Regions from separate parts of the Homo sapiens genome. Here all the other regions are linked to region 1. The links are contacts of gene promoters, found by promoter capture Hi-C in human tissues and cell types (Jung and others, 2019). All regions are on one chromosome and are shown on one strand. Each heading gives the region's core, a stretch centred on a gene start or on the middle of the fragment in contact. The rest is flanking DNA. Distances are from core to core; before and after follow the strand shown. Region 1 holds the start of KIF25 (kinesin family member 25). Region 2 overlaps AFDN (afadin, adherens junction formation factor). Region 3 has its middle 44 kb from the start of FRMD1.

Region 1 (4,160 bases), core at 466-2,965:
CGCGAGGCGTCCTCTGCAGCACGACACCGAGCTCCATGTCACACTCACGCTGCCTCCACGGCAATGGCCAGTCTGGGGATTGGGGTGTCCACGCTCGTCCAAGGCCCCCACGCGATGCCCACTCATCGCCACATCACCTGGCACCATCCTGGTAGGACAGAGGCGGGAGTAGAGGCCCAGGCCACTGTAACAATCCACAGCAGCAGAGCTGGGCCCCAGCATCTCCTTCCCTGCCCCACTCCCCCCTCACCAAGGGCTCCCAGGTGCTTTAGGAGCAGAGACCTCCTTGGCTGCCATGCAGACGATGGAGCAGCATTCACGGGCTGATGGCATTTGAGGCTGATGACGGACGGGGTGACTGTGGGGCCAGGTCCCCCAGGCGAGCTCTGTGAGTCCTTGGTCGTGGTGGAGACAGCGCAGCCTGGGTCCAAAGCAGTGAGGAGCACAGGCCACAGCACGCAGCCGGCCCTGGAGGACTCCATTATTTTTAAAAATGTCTCCCATACTTAGAGAAAGGAATTTGACCTGCTGGGCCCCATGGATGTCCTCTCCGGTAAAATGCCTCCGTCCCTTTGTCCTTTCAGCATGCCAGTCAAAGGTGGCGCACCTGGAGCGGGCCTTGCAGGACGTCAGTGCGCGTCACCAGCTGGAGAGGCAGAGAAGGAAGGTCCCGCACAACAGCCTGGTGGTGGGTGTGGGCGTCAGGGGAGACCTGGGGCGGCCCCGGGGAGAGGCCCACGCAGAACGTGCAGAAGCCTCCTCGCCGGAGGGACAGCGGGAGGGACAGCGGGGGGACAACAGGGGGGACAGCGGGGGGGGGACAGCGGGGGTGTGACAGCGGGGGGGACAGCGGGGGGGGACAGCAGGGGTGGACAGAGAGGTGGACAGCAAGGGGGACAGCGGGGCGGCCTGGCCGGAGGGCAGAGGGGCAGAGCTGCGGGGGCTGCGACCTGCGTCCTCTTCACCCAGGAGGCGATGGCAGCTGGAGGACGGGTGAGGGCGCCGCAGGCTGATTTAGGCTTTCGGGGTCACTCTGGCTGCTCGGTCGGGAGGCCACGACGGGGAGCAAAGGGGATGGCTGCAGTGTCACGGGGGCTGGTGGCCTGGGCCACATTGGTGGCGATGCAGGAAGTGGGACCGGCTGCTGTGAGGCACAAGGAAAGAGCTGTAGCGGGCAGTTGGGGGCGGGGGAATCTGCAGAGATGGGGGCGGGGGAATCTGCAGAGATGGGGGCGGGGGAATCTGCAGAGATGGGGGGCGGGGGAATCTGCAGAGATGGGGGGTCGGGGGAATCTGCAGAGATGGGGGGCGGGGGAATCTGCAGAGATGGGGGGTCGGGGGAATCTGCAGAGGTGGGGGCGGGGGAATCTGCAGAGATGGGGGCGGGGGAATCTGCAGAGATGGGGGCGGGGGAATCTGCAGAGATGGGGGGCGGGGGAATCTGCAGAGATGGGGGGCGGGGGAATCTGCAGAGATGGGGGGCGGGGGAATCTGCAGAGATGGGGGGTCGGGGGAATCTGCAGAGATGGGGGGCGGGGGAATCTGCAGAGATGGGGGGCGGGGGAATCTGCAGAGATGGGGACTTGCGCGGGAAAAGCAAGGATTTTGCTGTAACTGGAGATGCCGGTGGAGACTGCCCCTGCCCCTGCCCCTGCCCCTTCCTCACCAGCACCTTCCACCCACGTCTCTCACTGCCCATTAACAAGACCCAGAGGCTCTCGTGCTTTCTTGGTCGAAGGTATGAGACCTGAGATCCCATGAAATTTAATGTAAAGTCTCAGGGTTTGATTTTGCAACACGAGGATGCCAAGGTGGATGATTGAGTGGGTGACCCTCGCTTCTGTGAGGTTTGATTTTGATGGTTGCACTTTGGCCAGTTTCTCCGAATTCCACCTGCCCGAGGCCCACGAAGCCAGTGTTCCTGCGAAGCTTCTCTTCCCTGGCCATGCCGAGAGGTTCTCCAGCTGTTAGATGTGTCAAAGAATAATTCTCATTTTAAGCATCTACTTATGTAGTTCAGTGCTCCAAACATTGATATAAGAGAACATTTATTGAGTGCTTCCTGTGTACCAAGTACTTTTGAAACCATTTGGTGTATTTTCTTATTTAATCTTCACAATAGCACCACCTCTCTGGGTTGCTATAAAGACAAAGGGAGATATCAGTGAAGCACCTGGCACTTCAGAAAGTCTCACTACGCTGCAGCTTTTTTTTTTTTTAATCTGGAGCATGAAAAAGATAATATGAACCTTCCTAAGATGGAGTCAAGTCCCACAAGGAAGAATTGGTTGTGGAAGTTTCTGAGTGTTCCACCTCAAGCCTGGTCTCCTGGTCTAGCTGAGGAGCGTGCAGTGCGCGGCCCATGGAGAATATGCAGGCAGAGGCTGATCCCAGCTTCTGTGGGTTCATAGAGACCAGACGGAGGCTGTAAATCATTGGCCTATGACACCCACTTGGTTTTCAAAATGTAGAAGGAGCTGCTCAGCATGACAGGGTGGATAAACTTGCTGTGGATCCAAGACAAGATTTCAGAATGGATTTGGCAAGTTCTGAGCACATACGGAGAAGATGTGTTGCTCACTGGAAACCAGTGGAGTTTATGAGAATAAAAAGCTTCTAATTTCCTTCCAGTCATTAAATCAAGGAAATATGACAGATACTGAATTTCCAAAATCCCCTCTAAAATGCCTAAAATGTCGAGCCCAGGATGCCATTCAAAGGGATTTTCCTTGGTACTTATTACCAAGGGATACCCCTTTGCCAAGTGAACACATTTGTGAAGTATGAATCCAGAAGTTTAAAATAACTGTTCATGGCCGGGCACGGTGGCTCATGCCTATAATCCCAGAACTTTGGGAGGCCGAGGCGGGCGCATTACCTGAGGTCAGGAGTTCGAGACCAGCTTGGCCAACATGGTAAAAACCCTTCTGTACTAAAAATACAAAAATTAGCTGGGCGTGGTGGTGGGCACCTGTCATCCCAGCTACTCTGGGGGCTGAGGCAGGAGAATCACTTGAACCTGGGAGGCGGAGGTCGCAGTGAGCTGAGATTGCATCACTGCACTCCAGCCTGGGCGACAGAGCAAGACTCTGGCTCAAAAAATAAATAAATAAAATAACTGTTCACTACCCTGCAGGGGTCTTTCGAAGTGGAGACAGGTGCTGCAGATCTCACGGCCGCGTCTCAGGAGCTGGTGCCCGGTGCACGTTCAGTGGGGGATGCTCCGCAGTGCAGGCTCGCGCCCGGGTTGACACGCAGACCTCTTGATCATTGCAGGAGCTGAAACGAAATATCAGAGTTCACTGTCGGATTCGTCCTTTGTTGCCTTTTGATAGTGAATCCGACGATCCAGTTTTGCAGAGCAGGTAACCTGTGTTTGCACGGTGTGTGTATGTCTGTGTGCTCAGGGAAAAGACAGAGGAGTGGCACAATTTTAAATGCCGTCTACTGTCCTGTCCCCGGTCCCAAAGCAGGACATTCTCGAGTTGTGGGTGGGGGCTCTGTTTAAGGATGGCGCTGTCTTGCTGACAGTGGACACTCTGCAGCCCTCTGTAATACGGCCTGCAAAAGGCCAAACTGCCTGAGCAGGCCTCTCGTGCGTGGTAGTGGTTCTGCACCTGAGAGGGCGTCCGTCTTTTCGTGGTTTGCCTCTGCGGGGTCCGACCGAACAGGGACAGGCTTTGAATGGACTTTTCCCTTTATGTCACTATATCAAAAAGGGAGCACCCTGCCTTTATGAACCCCAAAGACCACCCACTCCGCCATGCAGGCAGTCAGTGAGTATTGACTCAACTGATACTTTTGACTTAGAGAAAGTTTTGATGGTATTCATGGATACAGCAAAATTATCTGAAGTTCATTTACTCAAATGCTTACTTGAAAACCATACTCAATATGACTTACTTCCTTCCCCATGAAACAAACCCCCTGGAAATCCCCACTCCCATCCTGACCACACCTGACCCTCCCCACTCCCATCCTGACCACACCTGACCCTCCCCACTCCCATCCTGACCACACCTGACCCTCCCCACTCCCATCCTGACCACACCTGACCCTCCCCACTTCCATCCTGTCTACACCTGACCCTCCCCACTCCCATCCTGACCACACCTGACCCTCCCACTCCCATCCTGACCACACCTGACCCTCCCCACTCC
Region 2 (3,980 bases), core at 1,314-3,813, 85 kb before region 1:
CTCATTCCAATATCAAGATAACTGTGTTGACTTTCCATTTCACCAAATAAGATTTATTTGAGTAAGTATTAGTCTCAGTTTAAGTCAATATTTAACTCAGTAGAGATGTTCATCACAGTTTAAGTCATTAATATCCCCACAATTTCATTTTTCATTAAGTTTGCGGAAGGCAAAACACATGTTCCCTGGCTCTTACTGTCAATTTAAATTTTCTTATTTTTTCAGAGACATTTTTGAGAATTCTTCCTGGTTATCTCTGTTAAAGTTGAACTAAAATGATAAAGACATTGAAATGTTAAGGAAGCTAATCACTTGACTATGTGTTTCGCTGGTTTTTGGTAAATATTGTATATAAAATACAGTGGGTAGCGAACTTAGAGTAATAAGTAAATGGCTTGAAGTTCTAATCACATGGCTAAGTGAAAGAATAAGCTGAGCATTATTCATTGAGAAAAGCATAAATCCACAAAGATAAGGAAATCTAAACTGGATTTGTAATTTATTATCTTACACATTTAAAGAGTCTGTGCCTAGCAATGGCTTTCAAAATGCTTTTGAACTGTGGTTATAACACAAGATTATATCTTACATTGTGCTCTGGTGAACACACATACAAATGTGTATTCAACTGAAAGAGTAGTTTCACAAAACAGCCTTCTGCCCTGCCAATGGGTGATGACACACTGTTTGAAGAATATTTTTATAGAGATAGAAATGAACCTAACTTTTGAATTAATTTGATCTGAATACCTGGAAATAGATAAACATCAGCACAATGCTAGTTTTTATAAATGTTCCAAATTATAGTTTCTTTGTATTTATAATTTTTGACAGTTCCTTATTTGTGTAGTGTCAGGCTAAATGGTGGAAGGGACCTGGAATTTATGTGACCGTAAGAAGAAATGTGAGTGAGTAGAACATCTCTTTATAAGGCATGCGTCACTGTAAGCATTGGAAAATGATGATAGTAATGGCTGAAGGAGACTTGCCGTGGTCAGCTTGTCTAACCCTGTGTCAGCAGAGAAAGACAAAGTCCAGGTCTTAGGAAGCTTTTCCCTTTCAGTATAAGAACTCCGTTTCAAGCTTGGCATGGTTAGTTTTTCTTTGTGTCACTTAGTACTTTGTTTTCAGTGTTACCTGAGCCATAGCTGTAGCAGATGCAAGACAGACCGATCCCTGTACTAGACATGAAGTGTTCATTAATAATCCAGAATCACGTCAGATCTGCTGTCATGGCGGCGGCATATACTTCAAGGAACTAACCTTCTTAGAGGAGTCGTGATAAGATCACTCCCAATGCATTATTTGATTAGGCTACATCTGAAAACAAGGGATATTTTATTATTTTACGTTGGAAAGATTAGTATATAGATTTAAAAAGTAGTTGCAGAAATCTACACAGGTTGTCAGTAATATTGTTAGCCATGTGACCTTATTTTAAGTGATGTCAGCTTTCTTCTTTTAGAACACAGGATGCTTCTGGGCCTGAGCTGATACTACCTGCAAGCATTGAATTCAGGGAAAGTTGTGAGTAATTTCAGATTTCATTGTCAATGAATTATTTCTTGATCCATTTTACTCCATCTGATTTTCACATTCGTTTTTATTCTTTTTTCCTTTTTTCTTTGTTTTTGAAATCTTTCCACAGCTGAAGATTCATTTTTGTCTGCCATTATAAATTATACTAATAGCTCTACAGTCCACTTTAAGTTGTCCCCTACATATGTATTATATATGGCATGCCGGTATGTATTGTCCAACCAGTACAGACCTGACATCAGCCCTACAGAGCGCACACATAAAGTCATTGCAGTCGTCAACAAGATGGTGAGCATGATGGAGGGTGTCATCCAGGTACGTTCCAGCCGGCCAGCCATGCTCCTCCAGTGATTGTGGTTGTAATTGCTAAGCCAGTGAATTCAGCTTCTTTAAGGCTTCTCATTTGGTTACAAGATTTTTTTCTAAAATAAAAGTTATGTAAATATTGTAGGAAAATGTATAACTTTAAAGAGTTGAAAGGAAATGCAAGCTTTTTTCTATTTTGTTTTCCCTGTAAAACTTCAGCATAAGTGAAGTTAACTTGTAGTAATAGTTGTGAGAAAGTGCTGAGACTGTTGTGGGCTTTTGTAGAATTTTTTCTGTAAATAATTTGTTGAGATGAAGTTCATATAATATTAACCATTTTGAAGTGAACAATTCAGTCGCATTTGGTGCATTCACAGTGTTGTGCAGCCACCACCCCTGTCGGTTCCAAAACGTCTCCATCACCTCAGAGCGATACCCCTCAAGTAGTTCCTGGGGTTTTTCTCTTCCCCCGTTCCCTGGTAACGCCTTCTTAGACTTTTTAAAAATGGTTCTCAAAAGTCACTTGCTCCTGTGTAATGAGCCTAGACGTTGGTAGTAATTGGGCTTTTTGATAGCACATGTGTAGGTGTAATGGACATTGTAACATACTTCTCACTTAAAATGAAATTCTGTCATAAACCTGTTTTCAAAATTTCAGAAGATAAAGGTATTTTGTTGGTAGAATGGTTTGACTCCTTTACGTACTTTCTGTCCCGATCTACAGTTGATAAAATTTTCATAGCAGTTTTTCATCTACAGATGATTTGAAGATTTAATCTTTAAAGTTCTTAAAAGTAAATGTACAGATTTTTTCAGTTTTTCTGAATCACTTGTCAATGTTGTTATTTAACTTAATAAAACTCTAGTTATATAATGTTAATAACATAGATAGATTGGTTGCTTTTCTCCTGGCAGGATCATTTGAGGGAAACTAAGATCTTTTAGTTCCTTCAGAATTGTTTTCAAAGGCCAGAATTTTTCAAGAAATGTTTCTTTTATATTTGAGTGATTAGCATGAGTTTGATAGGGTTATGCTTCTTTTACCCAAGTTAGGAAATAGGTAAAAAAGAAAGTCATTTTATTTGGATACCGTTTTGTTACTTTCATGTCATTATTTTATAAACAAACATGGATTTCCTTTTCAGTTGTCATTCAAAGCCATTGTCTGTCTTCTATCATGTTTGGACTTACTAAGCCTGTTTCGAGTTGTGAGACACCTATCATAAAACTACCCTTGATAGCCTTTTCCTTATTGATGTGAACTAGTCAGTGAAATCACCATTATCAAACAAGTCTTTTAAACTTCAGATTTAGGGTTAGTATCCAGTGGGGGGAATCTTAAAGTAGTGGAAAAGAACTGTGGTAGTGAATAATTTAAATTCTATTTTCAAAAAACAAAGAATTTGCTCCCTTTAGTATAGGTGTAAGTTATTTATACACTTTTAAATTCTCATCTTCTCAGCTTTTATTTTGATTGTTTCTTGGTCTTTCCTGTCTCTTCCATTCCTATTAATTAATCTAGAGGGATGGACTTTCACCTTATTAGGTACCTTTTAAGTAAGTAGTAAGCACACCATATCACTGAAAGATGTTCGTTCACAAGTCCTTCCATTGTAAATCTTTTAAAGAGATCAGTGTGTTCATGTGTGTTTATGGTAACATCATATTTATTGATAAACTCTAAAAATACAGTTAGTTATTGTGCCAGTGGTAAGAACATAAAACTAATCCTTTAGGTCGTATACTTCTAAAGGTGCTTCAGAACCATAAATGAAAATGTTATTTTGGGAATAACATAACTAAATGTCGTACCTTCATGTCGTACCTTCATATTAGTGTTTTGATTTTTTTAAACTATCATGATTGTTTACAAGTTTCTTTCTCTCGTTCTGCTTGATTTCCCCTCGTCTGTTTTTCTCCAGGAAGTAGACCAGGTTGACCAGGTAGGACATCTGCTGGGAGCTGATCCTAGCTGTGTTGCTTAGCCAAGTTTCTCATGCTGCTCCCATGTCAAATAAGTAATACAACAGCTGGACTGAACAGCTCATAACACTCATTCAGCAACTGAGACATGCAGTACTAAAACCCTTTTTGACTGTGCAACCTTTATCGGCATTTCATAATTTCTGCTTAAT
Region 3 (3,722 bases), core at 509-3,008, 130 kb after region 1:
GCAGGTGGGTGTCTCTGTCCTGGAGCCTGCAGAGAGAGACCAGCCCCACCTCCTGCCTGTCTCACCATGGGTGTCTTCATCTGTGGGCACCCTTCTGTGGTGACCTTTGGGGCGGCTGGCCTGTGGTGAGCCTGGGCTTGCCGCTGCATCAGGGTGGTTTCCCATCCGTTGGAAACTGAAGCTTCTTAGCCCCTGACAGCGGACAGGCCATGCAGTTCACCATGAGGGGAACAGAACTGTCCCGCACCCGCACCCCCTTCCTTCCTAGATGGAGAAGCCTGACGGTGAGATTCTGCAGCCGAAAGATGAAACCACCTGGGGCCAAGGTTGCTACAAAAATGAGTTTCTCCAATTTCACTTGTCCCCACAGTAGATTTTGGTTGAACAAGAAATAAGCTTGTAATGATTCAAGCCCCTGAGAATTTGTGGTCATTTTTAATGGCCTCATAAGCCTACCCCATCTGGATTAATAGACAGGAAGGGTTGGAGAGAGGAAGGGGCAGGGTAGGTAGAAAAGGGAGAGGGGCAGGAGGGAAGGAGAGAAAGAGGTAGGGGGAGGGAGAGGGGGAGAGAGGGAGAAGGAGTGGGGAGACGGGAGAAGAGAGAGAGATTCTCTGTTAACTGCCTCAAGGAAAGGGATCAATGCATATGCAAAGCCGAGTGTGCTGCAGAGGATTCCAACAGGTCTCAGTTTCATTAGCGACCAACTGAGGCCATGATTTTAACCCAGTCTTTGGAAATTAAACCATCTCTTAGAGGAGAAGCATTTGCGTCAAGCATCGCCGAACCTCCCAGCAGGGATTCACACAGGGTTTACGTTGCCAGCTGGGTCTGGGTCCCGCGGCGGCACTGCCACCTGTCTCAGGAGGGCTTCGGTTCAAGTTGGTGCTGTCGCTTTGAAGGCCACCCATGGCTTCATGGACGTCAAGAGGGTTGGGCCAGGCTGGAGAGAGGTTGAGGCTGGGAGAGAATCACAAGAATCTCCCACACCTCCTTGTCTGGGAGACTTTGTGCTTAGACTCCATATTCCGCTTATAGGATTTTCTAAGCCTCGCGTGGAAACACCATGTCACACTATGGAAGTGGCATTAAGCTGCAGTCAGGGTCCTGGGGCCTAGGTTCTGGTTCTAACCTCTCGTGGCCACTCACTGGCACACTCCGTACCCAGGATGACCACTGTCGTGGTGTGCCCTCCACGAGCTCACCTCTGTCCCCTTCTCTGAGGTCATTCTGATTTGAAACGTTCTTGATGGGCGGGAGCTGGTTGGATGATTTGAACACTTAATGCTGCACCCTGTGCTGTCCCTCTTTGTCCAGAGACGCATTTGACACAGCAGCCAGGATCCCCCTTGGCCGCTGCTTATGGCTGAGTCCTGACTCTGTGGCCTTTTCTGTGCTTGGGGGTGACTCTTACCCTTTCTCAGTCCGAGGGTGATGGCTGATCTGATCACTGATTGCATTGCCAGCTGGGAGCCCTAGAGACACACCAGCTTCCATGGCCGTGTTTGGGACGGCCCCCAGTTCTTCAACAGCTGACATTGTTTGGCTCTGTGTCCCCACCCAAATCTCATGCTGAATTGTAATCCCCATGTGTTGTGGGAGAGACCTGGTGGGAGGTGATTGGTTCATGGGGGCAGTTTCCCCCATGCTCTTCTTGCGATAGTGAGTTCTCATGAGATCTGGTTGTTTGAAAGGGGATAGCACCCCTTTGCCCTCTTCCCTGCTGCCATGTGAAGATGTGCCTGCTTCCCCTTCACCTTCCACCATGATTGTAAGTTTCCTGAGGCCTCCGCAGCCATGCCTCCTGTACAGCCTATAGAACAGTGAGTCAATTAAACCTCTTTTCTTTATAGATTACCCAGTCTCAGGTAGTTCTTCATAGCAGTGTGAGAATGGACTCATATCACAGCGGACAGCACCCCGGTGTTCTCACCCCTCTGACATCATGGTGCACTCAGGGAATGAAATGAAGACCAGACTCCTGCTGGCTCAGGGTCACCCATCCACTCAGTCCCAATGCACAGCAGCATGGGGGAGCGATCACTAAGTTCATTTACCCCTTAGGGGGAGTGAATTAACCTCACCCAAGCTTTCATCTTAGCCTGATTCACTCAAGGGATTAAACCCATCTGGGGATTATAGACTGGGGCTTGTGAGTCCTCTTAGGTGTTACAAACTGTCTTTTCACGCCTTCAAATTGGGAGGATTTTTATCACTGATGAGTTTTGCCACTGAAAGTGTGGTCTCAGGACTGGCAACCTCAGCTTCCCTGGGAGCTGCTTAGAAATGCAGACTCTCAGGTCCACCCCAGACCCAGTCAGGATCATCCTAACAAGCCCCCGCTCCTGGGGCTCCTATCAGGTTCAGTGTGGGAGGTGCTTCTCTGGATGGTGTTTCTCCAACTTCAGCCTTCAAGAGGGTCACCTGCTGGGCCTGTTAAAGTGCAGATGACTAGGCCCACCCCAGAGTGGCTGATTCGGGAGGTCAGAGGGCTGGACGGGGCCTGGGAATTTGCCTTTCTGACGAGCTTCCAGGTGAGGCTGATCTGCTGGGTTTGGATCACACTTAGAGATCCACTATTCTAGCAGGCCTCCAACTTTTTGATCTCAGGATCCCTTTGTCCTCTTCAAATGTATCAGGGGCTCCAGAGAGCTTTTGCTTATGGGCTACAGCCACTTATATTTGTGGGTTTTACCCACTTACTTATACTGATACATAGATGTATTTATATATGGGATGATATGTACATTCTATTCTCACCAGGTATTGAGCATTTGAGGCAATTTACCTGAGCCTGTTGACTTTAAAGATAAGGAGGCTGTTGATTTTCAGAGCACTACGTGTAAACGCTGATGGTTGTCTCAGGCATTTTTTCCTAATCTGATGGAGTTTTTCTAGAAAATTGTATTTCCAGAAGAAACACAACAGGAGAGTGAGCTGGTTATTGACACTTTGCCCCATGCTCTCCATGGTGTGGTTTTCAATTATGCAAATGAACCCAGAGGTTTGGCAATGTGCAGCTGCTTTGCATAAAAATGCAGATAAACAAATAAGCCTACCCCAGCTTACGCACACACATTCCGCCAGCGAGGATCGTATTGCCACCTTCCTCACCCTCAGAATCCACACGGGCCCCAAACAGAAAAGAACCAGTTTGTATAAGGTGATTATTTTAACAGGATTAAAAAAGAATTTAATGTTTGAATAGGTAATATATTCATGATTCAAAAATAAAAATGATATTAATGGATACACATTGTGAAACCCCCCTCACCTGCCCCCCCATCCCTAGAATAACCGCATTTATTAGTTTCTTCTGAACCTTCCAGGGTGATTTATACAGGTATAAGGAAACACAAACATATACTCTTGTTGTCGGCATTAACACAATCTTAGCGGTATGTTTGTGTCAGTGCATTGTCTGTATCTTTGTGAATTTGATGGGCATGTGGCTCATTTCCACCTTGAGCTGATGTAAATGATACTGCAGTGATTCACCTGAGTCATACATTGTTCACATGGTACAAAGATGACAGTGAGAGCATGGGACCCACGAACTGCAGAAGCAAAGGGGTGGCTTTCCACCGGTCTGTCTCCATGCATGGGTTTCCGATGTTCAAATGGCCCCGGGATAAACAATGCCTCCCATCCCTCACCAAACATATTTGGGGGTACCCTTCCCTCACCCAGGGGACGGAGTGATCTGGTGGAACTTCTACTAC

The links. Contacts are between HindIII fragments. The study calls those that stand out against the background at their distance.
Region 2: a fragment that was not itself captured here is called in contact with the fragment with the promoter of KIF25 in region 1 in 2 of the 25 tissues and cell types used here (hippocampus and pancreas).
Region 3: a contact is called between a fragment that was not itself captured here and the fragment with the promoter of KIF25 in region 1, in 4 of the 25 tissues and cell types used here (H1 embryonic stem cells, liver, mesendoderm cells and 1 more).

What each region holds. Positions count from the first base shown.
Region 1 is chr6:167,995,956-168,000,115 of GRCh38, forward strand. KIF25 (kinesin family member 25) reads left to right here and starts at 1,716. Exons shown (of 13, transcript NM_030615.4): 1 at 1,716-2,915; 2 at 3,137-3,365. KIF25-AS1 (KIF25 antisense RNA 1) reads right to left here and starts at 1,122. Exons shown (of 4, transcript NR_103750.1): 1 at 951-1,122; 2 at 283-646; 3 at 1-148. The HindIII fragment of the contact is 6,770 bases long and covers 1-2,271 here.
Region 2 is chr6:167,909,636-167,913,615 of GRCh38, forward strand. It overlaps AFDN (afadin, adherens junction formation factor), which reads left to right. Exons shown (of 34, transcript NM_001386888.1): 14 at 1,466-1,527; 15 at 1,649-1,854; 16 at 3,768-3,788. Among named protein-coding and RNA genes, the nearest start is that of HGC6.3, 68 kb to the right of the region's middle. The HindIII fragment of the contact is 6,595 bases long and covers 1-3,980 here.
Region 3 is chr6:168,121,350-168,125,071 of GRCh38, forward strand. No RefSeq gene overlaps it. Among named protein-coding and RNA genes, the nearest start is that of FRMD1, 44 kb to the left of the region's middle. RefSeq lists enhancers at 1-257, 3,690-3,722. The HindIII fragment of the contact is 5,968 bases long and covers 1-3,722 here.